Regions from separate parts of the Homo sapiens genome. Here region 1 is linked to region 2. Evidence: promoter capture Hi-C in 16 types of primary human blood cells and fetal thymus (Javierre and others, 2016). All regions are on one chromosome and are shown on one strand. The core of a region is centred on a gene start or on the middle of the fragment in contact, and the rest is flanking DNA. Distances in the headings are between cores, read along the strand shown. Region 1 has its middle 88 kb from the start of LINC02349. Region 2 holds the start of RORA (RAR related orphan receptor A).

The links. The method cuts DNA at HindIII sites, captures the fragments that hold promoters and counts their contacts. A CHiCAGO score of 5 or more calls a contact.
Region 1: a fragment that was not itself captured here is called in contact with the fragment with the promoter of RORA in region 2 in 1 of 17 cell types (M2 macrophages); the score reaches 5.2 in M2 macrophages.

Annotation. Positions count from the first base shown.
Region 1 is chr15:61,815,874-61,820,125 of GRCh38, forward strand. No RefSeq gene overlaps it. Among named protein-coding and RNA genes, the nearest start is that of LINC02349, 88 kb to the left of the region's middle. The HindIII fragment of the contact is 5,849 bases long and covers 1-4,252 here.
Region 2 is chr15:61,225,995-61,230,653 of GRCh38, forward strand. It overlaps RORA (RAR related orphan receptor A), which reads right to left and starts at 3,308. Exons shown (of 11, transcript NM_134261.3): 1 at 3,059-3,308. The coding sequence starts at 3,224. The HindIII fragment of the contact is 13,095 bases long and covers 262-4,659 here.

The DNA.
Region 1 (4,252 bases), core at 585-3,084, 590 kb after region 2:
CAACCCCTTAGGGAACAAAGTCCTGGTAAGCTGGACCAGCCTGACCCAAAGCCAGGGCAGGACACATCCTGTCACAAACTCATACCCACCACAACCACAAACAACAGACTTTGAAAATGGCTTCTTCCAAGAGGTCCCCAGACACCTGGCAACCCATTAAGATGGTAATGAGGAGGACGTCTCCTGGCATTTTCAAGATTTTAGAAAAGCCCCAGAAATAATACCGGTGGATTATCTCCCATTTTATAAAATATAAAGATGTATATATGGAATAGATTCCTAATTAGTTAATGAAGTTTGCTTCTTTCAGAAACACCCACGGAGCACAGGGCTGGGAAGGGGGAAGATAGCAAGGGGGTCCCTGGTGCCTGCAGATTAGAAATTCTGAGTTAAAACTCCAGCTAAAATGAAAGGGTGTTATCTGAGAAAAACAATCGCATTAGGCTGTCATCATTTATGAACACCTGAGTGTAAATTAGCCAGTGAGATTAGTTGTTCACAAATCAAAGATTTGCGTGGGACCGGGAAGGGGGAAGAGAGGATAAAAGAGGAGATTGGGAAGGACCAAGACAGTCTTAAATAGGGAACTGGATAAAGATAACCTAAGATAAAAATACCATAAAAATAACCATGCAGGCCACAAAGCAGCTTTACATCTCCCACTTCATTTGCCCCTTCACAGCCCAGGACAGTGAGAACTATAATTATCCTCCAAGAGGCAGCATGGCACGGCAGAGCCAGAATGCTGGCTTCAAAGCTCACGCTACGGCTCTACTAGCTGTGTGATTTGGGCAACTTATTCAACCTCTCTGTGTAGATAATTATAGTATCCACCTCATAGGGCTGCTGTGAGAATTAGATGAGTTAATTCATGAGACCCTTAGAACATGCTTGGCACAGGGTAAGCACTCAATACATGTTAGCTGTTATTTTATAACTGAGGCATAATAATGAGGTAAAGAGATTTGGCCAAGGTCACCAGCAACAATACAGCAAAGTCTACACCCGTGCAACTTCAGGTTTCCTGGGAAAAGGAATCATCTGGGAAAGGTAGTTAGGACATGCAGATTCCCAGGCCCCGCCCCAGATATTCTGATTGGGTGGGTCAAGTAGACGGTGCCATAGGAGGGCAAGAATCTGCATTCAGAACAGGCTCTGCCCAGGTGATTCCGATAGAGAGGATCAGCAGGGGACAGCCTGGGGAACCCCAGCTGGGACACAGAGGCTCCTGCTGCCTCACTGGTCTGCCATCCAGGAGACCGCAGGGGCCCCCGAACCTCCTCTTCCCAACTCCTTGACCAATAGCCAGGCCCACTGATGGCTTCGCAGGGCAGCATAGCCCCCTACTCCTGACTTACTATGCATTTTTCTTTCTCTAGTTTCCAAGGTAAAAAGCGAGGCAAACCATTATCAGAGAGACAAAGAGTTCTCTCCAAGACGAAGAGCTTTAAAACCAAGCTGCACTTCAGAGTGGATTTTACCACTGGGTTCCGTAATGGAAATGCTGACATAATCTTAATTATGAGGGAGACTTTCCTTCAGATGGAAATGCGGTGACCTAGAAGGCTCCATTTGCAAGTCCTCCTGACCTGTAAGAGAAGATGCCTGGTGGAATATTTTGGGTAATATATTATGCATCTACTTATCCTATGATCCCCATCTGTGGGCTTAGCAAGGCAGTATTTTGAAGAAAGGGAGAAAAAAATATGAACACCAGGCTTGAGAACACTCGCCTGGATCAGAGACCAGGGTGAGCTTTCTACTCTGCAGTGTTTTGCATTTCATATGAAGCAAAATCTATTTCAGGTGCTGCTGAAAATGCAGGAAAAGTACCAGTGACTAGAGTCCTAGGAATTAAACTGGCCTCAGTTCAGAGACGCAGAGTGGTCTCATACCATCTTTTCTGCATATTCATAATTTGTCAATGTGAAGAGGTCTTTGCTACCAAGAAAAAAAAAAAAGAAAGGAAGGAGGAAAGACAGACAGGAAGAAGAAAACGTTCCTTGGGAACTATCATCTCATACGAATGAGGTGGCTCCCTTCACACCAGCCCCGGGAGGCACACACGTCATCAGCCTCTGTCCTCTAGCATTTGACTTAATGCAATCTCTGCCAGGCATTTCTCGCCAAGATATGAATGGTGTGGACTCTAGGTTGAATATATTACTCAGAAAACAAGGCTGCCTCCCCTGAGAGTGGGGCAGTATTTAGATATTTAGCTCGTGGCTAGGATAAGAGGGCAGGCCCCTAAGCAGGAATAGAAGGCTGCAGTGACTCAATTTCTTAGCAGAGATAAAGGGTAAACCCTTGAGGTGGTGCCCTCCTGTGGAGCTGAGTCACCTGCAGGCTTACATGTGGCTACGATTGGCCATGAGTTTCTATCTACCTTCATCTCATTCATCTACAGCAGTGGTAAATCACCATGATATTTTTTTTTTTTTTTTGAGACGGAGTCTCGCTCTGTCCCCCAGGCTGGAGTGCAGTGGCGCGATCTCAGCTCACTGCAAGCTGCGCCTCCCAGGTTCAAGCCATTCTCCTGCCTCATCCTCCCAAGTAGCTGGGGGTACAGGCACCCACCACCATGCCCGGCTAATTTTTTGTATTTTCGGTAGAGACGGGGTTTCACCGTATTAGCCAGGATGGTCTCGATCTCCTGACCTTGTGATCTGCCTGCCTCGGCCTCCCAAAGTGCTGGGATTACAGGCATGAGCCAGCGCGCCCGGCCACCATGATACTTTTTTAAAGCACACAGTTTCATTTGTTTTGACAAACATATACACCCATGGAGAAACACCCTCATCAGGATACAGAACATTTCCATCCCCACAGAGTGTTCCCTCATGCCCTCTTCCAATCAATCTTCTCCTCCCCAGAGGCAACCATGCTTCTGATATTTTTTACCATAGATAGTTTCACCTATTCTAGAATGGTAATATCAGTGGACTCATATAGCATGGCCTTGTTTGGCCTCTTGCATTAAATGTAGCATTTCTGAGATTCACCATGCTATCGTGTCAGTAATTCACTCCTGCCGTAGACTGAATGTTCATGTCTTCCAACATTCAAATGCTGAAGCCTAATTCCCAATGTGGTGGTATTTGGAGGTGGGGCCTTTGGGAGGTGATTAGGTCATGATGGCAGAGCCCTGAATGAGATTACTGCCCTTATAAGAGAGACCCCAGAGAGGCCCCTCACCCCTTCTACCATGGGATGACACAGTGGGAGAAGTTGCTGTGAACCAGAAAGCAGCCCTCACCAGACACTGAATCTGCTGGTGCCTTGATCTTGGACTCCCAGCCCCCAGAGCTGTGAGAAATAAATTTCTATTGTTTATAAACCACCCTCTATGATTTTTTTTTTTTTTGAAACAGGGTCTCACTCTGTCACCCAGGCTGGAGTGCAATGACACCGTCATGGCTCACTGAAGCCTCGACCTCCCAGGCTCAAGCAATCCTCCTGCCTCAGCCTCCCAAGTAGTTGGTACCACAGGTGCATGCCACCATGCCTGGCTAATTTTTAAATTTTGTGTAGAGATGGGGTCTCACTATGTTGCCCAGGCTAGTCTCAAACTCCTGACCTCAAGTGATCCTCCGCCTCTGCCTCCCAAAGTGCTGAGATTACAGGCATGAGCCACCACACCCAGCATCTGACCACTGTTTAAGTGTTGGCAGCTCACTCGACAGTCCCACTTCTCGCGAAGGCATCTGTGTCCCCGAGCAAGCAAAGCCTTTGGTTTCCCGCAGGCTCTGCTATCTACAGCAGCTCTTCTTCACACCGGCTTTCAGGATCCCGGATTTGTAGGGAGCTCTTGGGTTAACTTCTTGCCCCTTCTCCATCCTTCCTCTCAGCAGTGCCGTGGTTCTCATGGGAAGCAGGAATTTCCCCATCAGCCCTTCCCCATCCCCAAATCATTAATGACCTTGACTGGTGGACGTGTGTGAAGCAGGCAGGAGTTGTAGAGGCACCGAGAGTGAAAGGTTTCCTGAGCTCCGGGGAGAGGGAGCAGGGAGGATGAGGGAGGGCACGCTTTGAGGCCCCCAGAGTCTGTGCTAATTTATCCTTCCTCTCAAATTGCCTCCAAACTTCAGTAATAAGCATGCTCGTAGTTTGCTGATGAAATACATTCTTCCAAAGCAATTTTAAAATAATCGTACTGTATGCTAAACCTTAAAAAAAAAAGAAAAGAAAAAACCCTGCAGCCAAGTCATTCTAGACTGAACGGCAACGACAGAATTTCATAATTAGGAAATGC
Region 2 (4,659 bases), core at 2,058-4,557:
ATGGACAGGGGAAGGTCGTCTTTCAGATTATAAAGTCACACACCTGATTTTGTAAGCTCAGGCAATAAAGGTACACAGTGCATCCACACTTGGATTCCCAAGAGGGAGGAATTCAACAGTAGCCTCAAGTCTACCTAGGTAATGTCTCATGAGGTCACTGCAATGTCATGAGAATTCAGACCACAATTTCTGTGGACTTCAAACACTGACTGGGTAGAAGCTAAACCTGCTACCCTTTGGAAAGTATCTCCCAAATCAGAAAGCTTCCCATTTCACCCAATGCCAAGAACTCCACTCCACCCTCCTGGAGGTTGAAAATGCTAATCATAAGGTGATGATGTTTGCTTTTCCTTTCTAGTTGTGTGCCTTTATGTTTTAAGTATTTAAAAGGCATAATCACCTAGTGTGTAGGTTAATTTCTTTCCGATATTGTAATTTATGCAACATTAATACTGGATGCCAGCTCCAATTTTCTTACTGCTTACACTCTGGGAGCCGGCTTGCATATTCTGCCAACTCCATTACATCATCTGAAAACCCAAACATTTCCCATTTTCAAATCACTCTCAACTACCAGGCATACTTACACATTCTCTCTTTTTCTCCCTAGCTCACACACATAAAGATTGGTACCCCTGAGGAGCAGATGCTACATCTGAGGTTAAAGTCTGCAAATGCACATAATTTCTGGAAGCTATTACTACTGCTGTGTTAGCTAAAGGATGCCTCCATCTCTGACCTTCCTTTTTCCATTCAGACTGTTATATAACCTAGTGCCTGCGTGCAGGATGTGAGTTGAGTGTTTGGGCCTTACCACCCCCCTCCCATTAAATCTTCCAGGAGGGACAGACAGGGGCTGGTTCAAAGAATGAGTTGGGGTGGGGGCAGAGGGTGGGGGGAAGGGGATATGGGTCAGCAGGTCAGCTGTGCAAGATGTATCCCACTCCTACTATGCCCCTCTCCCCTTTTTGCTGAGCCTAAGGGGGCTGGTGGCACTGAATGCTCCGGCGTTACATAATTTGCAAGAACAGCAAGTTACGGATTTGCTAGTCGGCTCTGCAGCCTGCCACCCTGATCGCTTGCAAGAACACCTTCTGGCAAGAATGACACCTGAAGATGTTAATAACACAGGGTGTGGGGGGGTCAAGAAGGAGAAAGGTGGCAGCACAAACCAAAAATTAGTGCAGCTTCCTAAATACTATGTCCCCCCCATTCCAAAAAAAAAAAAAAAGCCCCAGAAACACATGAAGGGGATTTTCTCCAGTGTTTCTGATTAACCCTGTTACATAACCCGCTCGCATTCCAAATCCACCGTCTCAGGGTCTAAATATACTCTTTGCAGCCAAAAGCTCCCCGCACACAAACTCACCGAGCTAGCGGCAGGTCCAGGCCCCCAGCCCTCATCCCCTTCCCTTTTGTCCCAGCCCTCGCCGCCCCCCTCCCGCTGAAACCGCGGTTCGCCGCGGTCACCCTTTGGAAATCGCCTTTAATTAAATGTTTTTCGCGTGTGTCATCCTGATGGCTTTTACTGTACTCGAATTCCGTGAATGGGAAAGCGCCTGGACAGGGGGTGTGGCTAAGGTGGGGGGGGGGATACTGTAAAACAGCCAGCACATGATCAGCCATATTCCTACCTCCAACTACAACATCGAGAGGAAGGGAGCAGTTCCTGGGGCCCCCATTCGCCTCTACCCAGCCCTCCCCAACCGCCGCCAGAAGCCGAGTGCAAGAGGAGGGGGCGCGCTGGGCCGGTACCCAAGCCGGGGCTGGAGAAATCCTCTCCGTCCCCAGCTCCAGGCGGCTCGCGCGAGCACGCTTCCTCCGGAGTGACAGGCGCGATTTATACATTATTTACAACAGTAATTAAAGCTGTAGCTTCCTCCTGTTCTTTGCAAACTCCAGGCGCATTCAAATAAATAATCCCCCACTCTCGAGAAAAACACACATCAGGTTCCAATACCTTCAAGAAAGAGTGAGCTTTCCTCAACAGCTCACTTTAGGAAAGGAGGGAGCAACTGAGTCCCCCCCATCCCCCCCAACACACGCAGACACAGACCAAACACCAAAATGAAGAGTAAAAATCGCCAGGGGAGGAGAAAACATTGCTTGCACTATCCAACCAGCATACAACTTGCACTGACCATCCCCAGGTTCCTGCAGAAATGCTTGGAACCTCCGAGAGGGAAGGATTCCCAGAGCAGAAATAAGTTTCGGTGCTTGCTTTTGTAGACGCTCCCTCCGGATGCGCGTGGAGCGCCCCACAGGACCGCCGCCCTCTGCGCGTTGGCGCGCACACGCCCCCCGCCAGCCTGGGCGCCGGGCTCCGAACCCCCGGTCTGCAAACTTGCGCATCTCCCCTCGCCGCGCCCGCCAGACAACTTGGCGAACAGCTCGCCCGCCCGCACCCCGCTTCCTTCGGCCCTTCCTTCAAATCCCAAACGCACCGCCGTGCTCCAAAGAAGGTGTCCACGTCGCCCCCAGACCCCGGAGCGCCCCCTCTCCACCCCCGGGACTTCCCAGGTCGCTCACTCCTCCCGCCCCCCGCCCAGATCTGAGAGGGACCGAAAACACACCCCCGACTCGGGCAGCCAGGGCCGAAACTGTCAAGAGGAGAAAAGGTAAAGCGGAAGGAGGGTGGCCATAAACAGATTTTTTTGCCCCTTCTTAAAAGGACACTGCCGCTTTAAAAGTTTCTTTCCCGGGCCCCCACTCCCCGCATCTCCGTATTTTGGGGGAGCGTATTTAATTGAGGCAACGCAGCTTTCCTCCAGTGTTTGCAGAAAAATCAAAGCCAGGGGGGTGAGCCCGCCGGCTGTCAACCTTCCCGCCGCCTCCCCCGCCCCACTCTGCTCCCGCAAGCCGAGAACGGGCTGCAAAAGTTTGCAACATTTCTGGGGGGCGGAGGGGGGAGGGGAGGGGGGTCCTCCGGGCTCGGGGCGCCGCCGCAGGCTCGCGCGCGGCCGCCGGACCCCGCGCCCCGGGCGCCCGCTCCCGGCCGCCCCCCGCTCCGCGCCCGGGCTCCCGCCGCCCCCTCCCCAGCCCCTCTCCAGCCTCCTACCTCTGCTGGTGCTGGAATAGCTCTGTCTGCGCACCGGGGCAGGCGGCTCGCTCTTGCGGGCGGATTCCTGGTTCAGCGGGGTCTCCCTGGAGCCGGCGGCCGCGTCCGCGCCGCTGCTGCCTGGCTCGCTGGCGGCGGGGTCGGGGGCTGCCGGAGCTGACTCCATGTTTTTTCCCAATGTAGAGATCGCTGGAGATGGCGAGCTCCGAGACTCCCTCTATCTTCTGTTTTCAGAGCAACTCTATGGTACCAAAAAAAAAAAAAAAAAAAAAAAAAAAAAAAAAAAAAAAAAAAGAAGGAGAAGGCGACCGGCGAAAGCAGGAGGGAAAAAGCAGGCGGCGGCGGGCGGGCAAGCAAAAGCGCGAGGGAGCGCGCGGAGTGTCTGGGTGGACGTGTGTGTGCGCCCGAAAGGGGACAAGAGGCGGGTCTGGCCACAGGCAGCGCTAGCGAGAGCTTCTCCAGCCGGCCCCCACACCCACATTCCCCACCCTCCAGACCCCAGACCGAGAGCCACAGACTGGCTGCCAATTTTGGGAGGTGGGGAAAAGAGGGGAGGAGGAGAACAGAGCCTCCCGCGCCCCAATCCTCCCCTCTCCCCAGCCCAGGGACAGAAATTAAAATCGGTGAGATGATTCCGTGCCTACTTCTGAGACTCTCTCGGGAACAGAACTCGTCCCCATCCGCTGCCAGCTTGGGTAGAGACAAATCCGATTGTCCACGTCCACGTTGGGAAATCGCAGGTAGCCCCCTGCCAGCCCTGCCGAGGGCTGAGGAGAAACTAAAAAGGAATTAGAACGGGGCTGACATCCCAAGGAAGGCGGAGGATGGGAGGACGTGGCACTTTTTACTTTGGGATGGGACGGCCAGTGGGTTTCCAATCTTGGTTAAAGACATCTGTGTCTAAAACAGATTTTGTGAATCTAGAAGCGCCATGGACAGTTTCTGGCATGGTTGAAAGAGGTCGCTTTCAGCTCCTTTGCTGTTTGTCCGCGAAGGATCCAGAAACCATTTGGCAGGGCATTTTCTACTGAAGAAAACTTTGGCCTGTTTGGTCGACAACTATCTAAGCTGGATAAAACATGCCACGCTGCATCTAGCTCAAGCGTGGCTGCTAATTGTCAATTCCCACTGGTACTTTTCCTATTAAATGTACAGTCTCATCCATAAAAGGTAGATATACTGGAGAGGCATTACTAATGCCCGGATAACATTCAGATAATTAACAGCTCCTAATAATTCGTATTATTATAGGCATCATTCTACACCCTCCTCCCATTGAAATACATTCATCCCCTAGTAGGTACCTAAAACTCCAGGAAAGCAGATAATTGCATCATCGTTACCTTGACTGCAAACTCCAAGATGAAGGAACAATACAAATTGAAAGAATGGAAAATACTCCAATGGTAGTAGCCTGATTTGTCTGCCTTCATACTCAATCTACCACTTTCTTTTGCCTGCGAAGACACTGTGGAAATACGCCCCACCTTCCTTTCAAAAGGATCCAAAATTTTGACAATAAATAATATTATTAGAGGCCAGAAGGTGGCATAAATATATGTGCTTCAGAACGTGGGGTAGGCGGAGGGAATTGGGGGACA